2 separate regions of the Homo sapiens genome follow, and region 1 is linked to region 2. Evidence: promoter capture Hi-C in 16 types of primary human blood cells and fetal thymus (Javierre and others, 2016). All regions are on one chromosome and are shown on one strand. The core of a region is centred on a gene start or on the middle of the fragment in contact, and the rest is flanking DNA. Distances in the headings are between cores, read along the strand shown. Region 1 has its middle 74 kb from the start of LINC00839. Region 2 holds the start of ZNF485 (zinc finger protein 485).

Region 1 (5,849 bases), core at 2,237-4,736, 1.1 Mb before region 2:
TAATCCCAGCACTTTGGGAGGCTGAGGTGGGCGGATCACGAGGTCAGGAGTTTGAGACCAGCCTGACCAATACAGTGAAACCCCATCTCTACTAAAAAAAAAAAAAAAATACAAAAATTAGCCAGGTGTAGTGGTGTACACCTGTAATCCCAGCTACTCGGGAGGCTGAGGCAGAAGAACTGCTTGAACGCTGGAGGCAGAGGTTGCAGAGAGTCAAGATCGCACCACTGCACTCCAGCCTGGGTGATGCAGTAAGACTCTGTCTCAAAAAAAAAATAAAATAAAATAAATAATAAAAATAAAAATAAATTGGCAAAATAAATAAAAATATATGATCCAGGTATATATTGTCTACAAGACACTCTCTTTAGATACAAACACACAACACAATAGGTTGAAATTGAAATGACAGAAGAGGATAGTAACCTAAAGAATGCCAGGGTGGCTATACTGAGACAAAAGAGACTTTAAATCAAAAATTGTTACAAGAGAAAAACACTACATATTGATTAAAAAAAAAAAAAAACTAAGTCTACAAAGAAGACATAGTAACAGAAATAGAAATAAATCATCCTGAAGTTTACATAGAATTTCAAGGGATCTCAACTAGCCAAAATAATCTTGAAAACCCATGCATGTATGGTAAAATGATTTTCAACAAAGTTGTCAAGAACAGTCAATAGGGAAAGGACAATTTTTCTAACAAATAGTGTTGGTAAAACTGGATAGCCACATGCAAAACAAAACAAAAACAAAAAAATTAACTCAAAATGAATCAAAGACCTAAATCTAAGAACTAAAGGTACAAAACTCATGGCAGAACACATAGGAGAATGGATTCGTGTGGCAATGTTTTCTTGGATATAATACCAAAAACCACAGGCAACAGAAATAAAAATAAATTGGACCACATCAAACTTAAAAATTGTGCATCAAAGGACACAGTTAACTGAATGAAAAGACAACCAACACAACAGGAGGAAATATTTGCAATTCATGTATCTGATGAGGAATTAATATAAAAAATATATAAAGAACCCCTACAACTCAAAACAAACAAAATAACCTGATTCAAAGATGGACAAAGGATTTGAACAGACATTTCTCCATTAAAGATATATAAATGGTCAGCAAGCTTATGAAAATATGCTCAACATCACTGATCATTAGGGAAATACAAATCAAAACCACAGTGAAAAATTACCATACACCCATTACAATGGCTGCTATCAAAACAACAAAAGAAAATAACGAGTGTTGGCAAGGATATGGAGAAATCAGAATCCTGTACACTGAGGATGGGACTGTAAAATGGTGCACCTTCTGTAGAAAACAGGTCGGTGTTTCCTCAAGGAATTAAAAATAGAATTACCATAGGTTCCAGCCATACCACTTCTGAGTATATAACCAAAAGAACTGAAAGAAGGATCTCAAAGAATAGTTGTACCCCATGTTCACAGTAGCATTATTCACAACAGTTAAAAGGAGGAAGGAACCCAAATGTCCACTGACAGATGAATGAATAAACAAAACATGGGTACAATGAAATATCATTCAACATCAGAAAGGAGATAAATTCTGACACATGCTACAACACTGAGGAAGCTTGAGGACATTACGCTAGGTGAAATAAGCCAGTCACAATAAGACAAATACTGTATGATTTCACTTATATGAGATATAGCAAAAATAGTGAAACTCATAGAAACAGAAAGTAGGATGGTGGTTGCCAGGGGCAAGGAGGAGGGGAAAATGGGGAGTTATTGTTTAATGGGTAGAGAATTTCAATTTCCCAAGATGAAAAAATTCTGGTGATTAGATGTACAATATGAATATACTTAACACTGCTTCTGAACTGTACATCCAAAAATAGTTAAGATTGCTAAAGCAAAAAACTAACAATAAATAAAGATGCCTGCTTTGGCCACATATATTCAACATTGTACTAAAAATTTCAGCCAGAGGAATTAGGCTAAGTAAATAAATAAATAAACCCAAATTAGAAAGAAAGAAATGAAATAGTTTTGTTTGCAGATGACATGATCTTATATGCAGAAAATACTAAAGAATCCACAAAGAAACTACTAGAAGTAGGAAACAAATTCAGCAAAATTACAAGATACAAGATCAACACTCAAAAATTATTTGTGTACTCATTACAATGAGCAGTCAAAAAGCAAATTAACAATTCCACTTACAATAGCATTTAAACAAAAGAAATTTTAGGCTTGTGGGCCATCACAGTCTCTACTGCAACCAGTCAACTCTGCCCTCGTAGTGTGAAAGTACTCACAGGCTATACATAAATACATGAGTATGGCTGAGTCCCGATAAAACTTTATAGACACTGAAGTCTGAATTTCATATAATTTACGATAGCATTTAAATGAAAAACTATTTAATAAATTTAAGCAAGGATATGCAACACTTGTACACTGAAAACTACAAAATATTAATGAAGGAAAGAAGACCTAGGGAAAAAAAATCTTATGTTCATTGATTATAAGATTTAATATTAAGATAACACTCCCCAAAGTGTTATCACCCACTCTAATACTTACCCAATCCAATACTTATCAAAAACTCAACATACTTTTTTGCAGAAATAGAAAAGCTAACTAAAAATTCCTATGGATTGCAAAGCACCCTGCTGTGGAAAACTGTCGGTTTCACAATAAATTAAATGTAAAATTACCATATCACCCAGCAATTTCACTTGTACGTATATACCCAAAACAATTGAAAGCATGTATTCAAACAAATATTTGTACATGAATGCTCATAGGAGCACTCTCCACAATAGCGAAACACAGGATGACCCCCAATGTCCATCAACAGATGAATGGATAAACAAAAGGTGATATATCCATATAATAGAATATTGTTCAGTCATAAAAAGGGACAAAGTACTGATATACAACTACAACATAAATGGGTCTTGAAAACATTATTCTAAGTGAGAGATCAGACACAAATTGTATGATTCCATTCATATGCCATATCCAAAATAGGCAAATCTATAAAGACAGAAAGGAGATTATTGGTTGTTAGGGGCTGGGAGCACAGCGGGGAAAAGGGAGCAACTGCTTATTAAGTTACAATACTGCTTATTAAGGGTGATGTGTTTCCTTTTGGTGTGATGAAAATATTCCAGAAATAAATGGTGGTTATGGTTGTACAACATTGTGAATGTACTAAAGTCACTGAATTCTATACTTTAAAATGGCTTGTGAATTTCATGTGATGTGTGTTTTACCACAATTTTTTTTTTAGGTAGAATCCCTCGAAAGTTATTGCAAATATTCCAGTTCTGCCCAGTCTCTAAGGCTGTCACAAAGCCTGCCACATCCTAACAACCCATGATCACCCTAGCCTACCAGGACTGTTTCTTTAAACAACCATGAGTCCTAATGCTACACAATTCATTGGATTTTTTTTTTTTTTTTTTTTTTTCCTGAGACGGAGTCTCACTCTGTTGCCCAGGCTGGAGCGCAGTGGCACAATCTCGGCTCACTGCAACCTCCACCTCCTGGGTTCAAGTGATACTCCTGCCTCAGCCTCCTGACTAGCTGGGATTACAGGCACGCACCACCATGCCCAGCTAATTTTTGTAATTTTAGTAGAGACAGGGTTTCACCATGTTGGTCAGGCTGGTCTCGAACTCCTGACCTCATGATCCACCCGCCTTAGCCTTCCAAAGTGCTGGGATTACAGGCGTGAGCCAATGTGCCCGGCCTATTTGAATTTTTTAATCATATACTTTCTTTTGCTATCTGTTAAGTTTTCCCCTGGACTGCACATGAATTACTCACTTTGTTGTACTACTTTTTTAAGTACCTGCAAGACTGTCATCAGAAGTTTCACAATGTCACCTAATAAAGCCCACCGACAAACTGTTTTATGTTCCAGTTTCACAACTGTAAGATCACAAGATCTGCATTCACCTATATGACATTTTTGTCTTACTCTTCATCAACTCTCTATCAGAAATCAGCAAACATTTTCTGTAAAGAGTCACACAGTAAATATTTTAGGCTTGTAGGCCATTACAGTCTCTGCTGCAACCAGTCAACTCTGCCTTTGTAGTGTGAAAGTACCAACAGGCAATACATAAATACATGAGTATAGCTGAGTCCCAATAAAAATTCATAGACAATGAAGTCTGAATTTCATACAATTTCCAAGCAAAATAATACTCTTGGTTTTTTTCCCTCAGCCACCTAAAAGTATAAAAACCATCCTTCATTTGTGGACCATAAAAAAACAGACAGTAGGCTGCATTTGACCCATGAACTGTAATGTGACCTCTCCTCTATATTTTCCAGGATGTTATTTCTACTTTCATATGAATGTATAGACATTTTTTAAACCTCAATAATTAGTTTTAAGCAAAACTGTGAAAAAATAAACAACTTACCTGGGATGTGATCATATTCCACTAGTGTTGGCAGAGCAGAGAAAACCGAGAGGGTGTAGCTTACAAACAAGAAAAGAACATGAGAAATGTCACTTGCCTAAAAATGTCCACCTCCCAGCTGGCAAAACATCTCTAAAAGGGAGATACTCACACGTCCATGCATGACTCTGGCATGGTTATGTACTGCTTGGACACATTAGTTTTCAAATGTGAAAACGTTTGGTTTTCTACTGACTTATAAACAACTTATGCTGTACTCTAACAGAGTATGCAAACCAATATATTAAACTAATTAAGCAAGTTAGGAAAAGCCAAAGAATGGAACATAATACTTTCATTAAAACTGATGCTAAACAAAAATATTCAGGTTTTAATCTTTATTATAAACCAGAGAATCCCAACAAGGTTTTGAAAAAAGTGATGTGGTATTTTTCAGCCCAGTTTTTTTTTGTTTGCTTTTTTGAGACAGAGTCCTGCCCTGTCACCCAGGCTGGAGTGCAATGGCACAGTCTTGGCTCACTGTAACCTCTGCCTCCTGGGTTCAGGTGATTCTCCTGCCTCAGCCTCCCAAGTAGCTGGGACTACAGGTGCGCACCACCACGTCGGGCTAATTTTTTGTATTTTTAGTAAAGACGGGGTTTCACCATGTTGGTCAGGCTGGTCTCGAACTCCTGACCTCGTGATCTGCCGGCCTCAGCCTCCCAAAGTGCTGTGATTACAGGCGTGAGCCACTGCGCCCGGCAGAGCCCAGTTTTTTTGGAAGGAAAACGAACTTGCTCTAACTTGGTTTCAGGTTCTCAAAACCATCTTTGGATTTTAAAAAGCAAACGGATTTTTTCTTACTCTGTTGTCAATGCAGCAAACACCTGCCTGAGTCCTCAAGCGACTCAGTGTCTGTTCTTGACTCTGCCACAACAAAATGTGTCAATGTCAACAGTCACTTAACATGTTAAGCTTGTTTCCTGTCCACCCCACCCCATCCCATCTTTTAAATAAAGCCGAAATAGATAACTTACAGACCTTTCTTGCGGCTGCACCTCTGATTCTGTAAGATCAAGATGGGGGCATCCGTACATCTCTAGTTGTGCTGCAATATGCCAGCAGCTCAACATCGAGAACGAGCGAGTAACGAATCCAGGCATGGAGGGTGCTGTCCTCCACTTGGCTGCTAAGCTCGGCCCTCCGCATGATGCCTTCACAACTCCCCAAGAAGCGGTGCTGTCTGCTCCTTCGGCCTTGCCCTCCTCTGCCGCCACATCTGAATGGGCACAAATCTCCCACCATCACCCAGCCTGTGGGAGTCTGAACAGGACACAAATCGAGCCTCTGCTCCTCCCATCCGTGCTCTAGATCTCTAATGAGGTCTCGGCCCAACAGGTCCGATGTCCTCCTAGGAGGGCCCCTGCACCCTCACCCCTCCTTTCCCTTCTCA
Region 2 (6,168 bases), core at 3,115-5,614:
CTGCAGGCTCTGCCTACATCTGTCCACTGGCAATTGACACTTTGTTCAAGCCCCACACAGGAGCACTTATAGTGGAGTGTACTAAGAGAGGATGTCTCTTAGTCTTGGGCCACAGAAGTGAAATTGATATTTTAGTTCAGATAGGAAGGATGGAGAGGAGTTGGCCAGGACAAGAGTGGGGGCCCAAGTTAGGCAAGCAGAAGGAAGAGCCCAGGGCAGCTCCTGCATGGGTCCAGCTCCCTAGGTGGTGTGAAGCTTGGTGAGCAAGGGGCTAAGGAAGCCGCTGGGGCAGAGCCACATGAGCTCTGGCCGAGGGAGAGGTGAGGATGGCAAAGCAGGCAGGAAAGGGTGGAGGGCCCAGCAGGTTAGGCAAGGAGTTCAGACAGTCGAGGGATGATGGAAAGCCAATGGGGGCAACTTTGCTTTGGGATCCAACAATGACTGTTGGTACCCAGCTCTGCTATTTACTAGGTGAGGGACCAAAGACAAGTTACGTTCTCTGAGCCAATTTCCTCATCTGCAAAATGAGAATAATAATTGTACCTTCTTTGGTGGTGAGAGCTCAGTGTAATGATGTATGTAAAAGGCTCTGCATGTCCTCTGGAATCAGCAAATGGTAGCCATATATAAATAAATGCAGATTCTGGATCCAGCCCCCAAAGTAAGGAAAGACTGGTCCTTAGGTGCCCTTGCTGGAAAAAGTGGGATGGAAAAAGTGTGATGGAAAAAGTGTGATTCTTTTGTTTTTTGTAGAGTCTCACTCTGTCACCTAGGATGGAATGCAGTGGCGCGATGTCAGCTCACTGCAACCTCCACCTCCCAGGTTCCAGCAATTCTCCTGTCTCAGCCTCCTGAGTAGCTGGAACTATAGGCGCACGCTGTCACGCCTAGCTAATTTCTTTTGTATTTTAGTAGAGACGGGGTTTCACTGTGTTGCCCAGGCTGGTCTCGAACTCCTGAGCTCAGGCAATCCGCCCGCCTCAGCCTCCCAAAGTCCTAGGATTACAGGTGTGAACCACCATGCCTGGCCATGATTCTTGATAAAGTGGCTTTGTAGGATTCTTGGCTAAAACTCGGCTCACCAGGCCAAGACAAGGCATAGTTGAAAGGAGGATGCAAAGGAGCCTGACTCCACTTTAGTCTAGGAGGGACGCTTGTCAGCTGTTCTATCCTTAGCATCCAGAAGTGAGTAGCACGCAGTGGGCCTTTGGTCAATCACTGGTAAATTGGTAAATGAATGCACCATCCTGAGAAATTTTCTTAAAAAAAAAGGCCCTAATTGAATGAGAGAGATACATTTTCCTCCCTTAGCTTTCCAATTCCTGGAGTTAATAAATAGAAACATATGTTTTTCCTAGAAAATAATACATTTGTTAAAACAGATTCAACCTACTTTCATTTTCTATGTCAGCAAATAGTGAGGAAATAATGTTTTTAGTGTTCTAGGTGATGTACTTTTCTAACATGCTTTTTATTTGTATGAAATAAAAACAGGATTATTTGGAAACAAATAGCTATCCAAAGGCACATAAAATATGTCTCTCATACTTTCCGTATCAGTTTCTGGTGGCAGATGTCAACCTAAGCAGTACATTAGAACCACTTGGGGGCTTTAAAAAATCCGAATGCCAGGACCACACTTAGGGCAATTAATTCAGAATCTCTGAAGCTGGGACCCAGGTACCTTCACTTTGCTTTTTTTTTTTTTTGGTATTTATTTCATTCTATTTTCTGTATAACTTTAAGTACATAAAGATTTATTTCCACAGGATCAGGAAATGGGTAGAAATCACAGGACAATCTCTCTTCCCACCAAAAAAGTTGCGTATTTTGGTAAGTGTTTGTCCTAGAGGGAAAAAACTGAAATTTACATTAGCAGTGCTGTGCAAGATTCTTACATAAATCAAGACCTAAAAGCAGCTTGCAGTGGAGGTTTTGGTCCCCTGTTCAGGTGCTTGGACAGAAGCCATAAGCTGGTGAGTGTGACAGGGAAAAGGAGGCAGTGAAGACAGGTGACAGGCACCTAGCAGGGAAGGAGGATTCAGGAATACCAGACTCCTTGGAATGGAGTGTTGTTTTTCCTTTTTTTTTTTTTCATCTCTGTAGGAAGGTGCTGGGCAGGGATCCCAGAGAAAGAAAGGGTTGAATACTCCTTTAACTGCCCTGGATGAAGGGCACTGCTACAGCAGCTAGTACCGGAGACTCTCCTATCTCATGGTTGAGGCAGACCCAGGATAGAATAGTGAATAAAAGGAATGCTTATAGGAAACAATTTTGCGTGGAATGCTAGATGGCCAAGCCTCAGCCTTTGGTCCAGTGCAATCCTTGCCTCACTTGTCAATAGTGAAAAATTAGTTTGGTTAGAAGAACCATCTGGAAACACACCAGCTTCTGCTACCTTCATGCTCATTGTCAGAAAAAGATTAACCAGTGTGAACGTTCTGATCTGTTAATTCCTGGGACTGTTTTCTTCCCAGTGGACTGTTTGTTGGTAGAATAACCCCCAAAGCTCAAAGCTAAAATGCATCATTAGTCCTCGTCGGCAGTTGAGCTGATTTGGAAAAGCTGCACCTTCCTGCAGAAGATCAACTGACCTGCTATCCCACTGCACATCTGAGGTATATTTCAGTGAAGGCAGGTAGCTGTGCTTTTCAGAGCAGAGAAGCAGTTTTAAGAGCAGAAAGGTAGAGGAAATCTAGAAAAGAACCGTCTTGATACAGATTTATCCCATGGTGTGAAGGGAGGGCAAAGAACCCAGTGGCACTTCGCTTATCCAGCAATTTCTGTCACTGTGGCGACAAACTTCTGCCCATTCCAGAGGGTCTTGAACTGCTCAGGAACTGGGAATTCATTAAAGTCACCGCCTTCTGTAGGAATGAGGACATTCATCTCAGAAGATTTGGCACTGGCTATTTCACAATCCAGGGAATTCTTGCTCAGGTAAGCATGGCAGCCATCTGTTTTGTTGATGGAAATGGTTGGCACTTTACTCATCACCTGAACTTTGACATCCCTACTGTTGATTATCTCCACAATGCCCACCATATCATCGAATACCAGACCAAGTTTCTTACAATTATCTACTGTAATGGAGTTAATTTTGCCCTTGATTTGCAACATCGTGTTGACACACTTGTATATGTAAGCCGCCTGTTTCAGCTCTGTGTCATCAATCACCAGATTGGAAACATTTTCCTGATTTTCCACTCTCCACTTCTTGCCCTCCAGTTCAAGTACAGCTGGCTCCTTCTTTGTGGCTGGTTTGGGGTTTAGGTGCAGAGAATGGCTTGGGGCCACTGCGTACTGGACCACTCTGAGCCTTCAGGGTAGGGTTCTTGTGAGTCTTCATGTCATCAGATACACGTTTCAGGGCATGTGTGATGCTCTCCCCCTGATTAATCTGCGCAAACAGTGCTGAGAGGGAAGCGGACTCATCTGAGCCTGAACTGACAGAGACTAGTGGAGGAGGGGGGCCTGGTGGTGGGGGAGGAGTAGCTGATCCAGCAGAGGGTCCAGATGGCAGTCCACTCAGTTCTTTTGTCACAGGCCCCGTTTTGCTCCAGGCAGTCCGGTGGTATGGAACTCCTTAATGTAAGCCTGCAGCTCTGTGCATATACTTAAATAAGCTTTGACTCAGTCTACATGCTTCTTATCCACATCTTTGTACTCTTTAAGGACTCAGTTTGTATAAAACACAGCAGCATGATTCATTTCTTTCACATAAGGGCCAGGATTGGGAGCCATAGCCACCCAGCCTAGGGCCTGGATACTTTCACTGACAGCTGACAGCTGATTAAACAACTTGCTGCCTCGGTTCTTCTCCCAAAAGGTTATCACTTCTTTGATCTGCTCTGAGATAGGTGCCAACAGATCGGAAAGCTTATTACCTGCCGGCTATTGACACTGAGAAGCTGTAACCAAGAGAGCTCACTCCAACTTCAAAACTGTGTGTACCATCTCCACATCTTTCTGCACGTCTTCCCCAATCTCTTTACTGATCTTCAAGTACTCTGCCACAGGGCAGGCAAGCAGCGAGTCAAATGCCTGCGCATATGGAGCTGCTCCTGCTTTTGAAGGACTATCTCCATATCCACGGTGCATGTCAGAGGTATGGGATACTGCCTCCAGGCGGCCCACTGCCCTGTCCAATTTTTTACCAGATTTTGCATGTCAGTCATAATGTATCACCTCCCGACTGCGATCAGCCGCTCTCCACTTCCCGCACCTTCACTTTTCAAAGATTCCCAGGTGATGCCAACCTGCTCTGCGGATGGAGCCCCTAAGACCCCAAGCGGCCCAGACTACGTTTCCCAGAGGCCTCCGCGGCCTCAGCCACTTCCGCTTCCGGTCCAGCCTGTCTCCGCGTGGTGCGAGCGCTGCACCAGCCCCTGGCTGGTGGTTACTGTCCGAACGGCGTGGTGTGGTCGCTGACTCTCTGGGCGTGCAGCTCCGCAGCCCTGCCGGCTCGGTTCGGTTCGTGAGCGGCCGGGGTCAGGCTGGGTCCCTGAAGCCTCGAGCCCCTGGCGGGTGCTCCCCGCCTTTCCCAGGGGCGGGTCGAGGGGCGAGCCGGGGTGGGAGGGGAAGGCGGCGGTGGGCAGTGCCCACCCGCAGTGGCTGCGCCGTGTGGAGCGACCGCTCGAGGCTGGTGCATCACAGAGCGCTCCAGCCTTGCGCCCCGGCCGACAGATTGGGCCACTGACAAGGCCGTCCCCCGGTGCTGCCAAAAGTGTTTGGCGTGGAGCTGGCTGCAGTCCAGGCCGGATCCCAGCAGCCGTTCCCTTTCCTTTCTTCCCGAGCGTACCCACCTGGACCTGTCTGCCCACCTGTGGAGGGAACGGGCGGGCGGGGACCTGGTCTAGAGGGCAGATTCTAGCTAGGCTAGGGCACGGAGGGACTTCCTCAATTTCCTCTCTTCTTTCCCAGATTGACTTACGCAGGATTCTCAGCCCTTGCCTGGGAGAACAGTTCAGGAGACAGATGGCCCCAAGAGCCCAGATCCAGGCAAGTTTGATTTTTCCATTTCTTGAGAAACCACGTGTTTCAGCGAGGTGGGGTTTATGCCTCTTGCCCGGACAATGCCCTGCCCTGTGTGTGGACAAAGCTACCCGAACCAATCCTGGATGGGTCCCGCGATTTCCGTCCTGTCTACCCATTACGTAGTCATTCACCAAGTAGATTATTGCTACCCATGTTTTCTAGAGTGCTAGAAACAGAAAAGTGCTTTGCAAACTGGCAGACGATGAAAAAAATACACGTTAGCATGTAAAGACGTAGGCCATAAAGACATAGGGTGATAGCAGTGCTCTCTTGACCTTTAGTGTGTGGTAGGGTGGGAGGGGTGGAGTAGTGGGCGCCTTAGTTCTTCCTGAAGAATAAATGAGATTTGCATAATTGCAGAGGATACTAGGGGAAAGCGCTGCCTGAATGAAGTCATTATGGCGGGACCATGAACAAACTGGTCTGAGAAAGTTGGAAACATTCATGGTCTAGAATCCCAGACTGGAGTTTGCTTTTATCCTGGAGAAAACTAGGTTTTGAAGGATTTTGAGAAGCTGATTAAATAATTGGTATTTTGAAAGGAAGTGATAAACATTTGAGTGTCTATTATACAAATAAAATTAAAAAAATTAAAGATCACCTACATTTCTACTGCTCTAAGTCAAGTAATTTCATTTGAAACACACTTTTCATTTTTTTAAGGCTTACTCATTTTTTCTTTTAGTATTTCATAGCCATTCCAATTTGTTCTAGTTTCATTACCACTTTTTGTGGCTTCCTTTTATACTGTGCCTTCAACCAGCCCTGGGACCTTGAGCAAGTTCTTCCAACTCTCTGAACCTTTGTGTCTTTAGCTACGAAATAGATTTTACTTTATATAGTTACGGCAGAAATTTAGAGAGATGATATGTATCTCAGGGTTTAGCACCGTGGCTGGTACATAGTAAGTTGTTACTCTTATGAAAAGCAATTTTTTTTTCTTTTTTAAAAATATTCTGCCCCAGAGTCAGATCATACTCCCTGTAAATTCTCGGATAAAGCTAATCACTTTCCATGTCTTTTCAAAGTTTCTATTCATTTGTTGATTGAATAAAGCTTGAACACTTCTGTGTCAGGCAGTGTTTTTGACTGGGAGGCAGCAGTGACCCACACTGTCCCCCTGGAGCTCAC

What was found. The method cuts DNA at HindIII sites, captures the fragments that hold promoters and counts their contacts. A CHiCAGO score of 5 or more calls a contact.
Region 1: a contact is called between a fragment that was not itself captured here and the fragment with the promoter of ZNF485 in region 2, in 1 of 17 cell types (non-activated CD4 T cells). The highest score is 5.6, in non-activated CD4 T cells.

The regions. Positions count from the first base shown.
Region 1 is chr10:42,546,140-42,551,988 of GRCh38, forward strand. It overlaps the pseudogene ZNF37BP. Among named protein-coding and RNA genes, the nearest start is that of LINC00839, 74 kb to the left of the region's middle. RefSeq lists an enhancer at 5,467-5,849. The HindIII fragment of the contact is 3,766 bases long and covers 1,604-5,369 here.
Region 2 is chr10:43,602,074-43,608,241 of GRCh38, forward strand. ZNF485 (zinc finger protein 485) reads left to right here and starts at 4,365. Exons shown (of 5, transcript NM_145312.4): 1 at 4,365-4,473; 2 at 4,924-5,001. The coding sequence starts at 4,978. It also overlaps the pseudogene CAP1P2. RefSeq lists an enhancer at 4,071-4,120 and a silencer at 4,401-4,680. The HindIII fragment of the contact is 2,214 bases long and covers 3,878-6,091 here.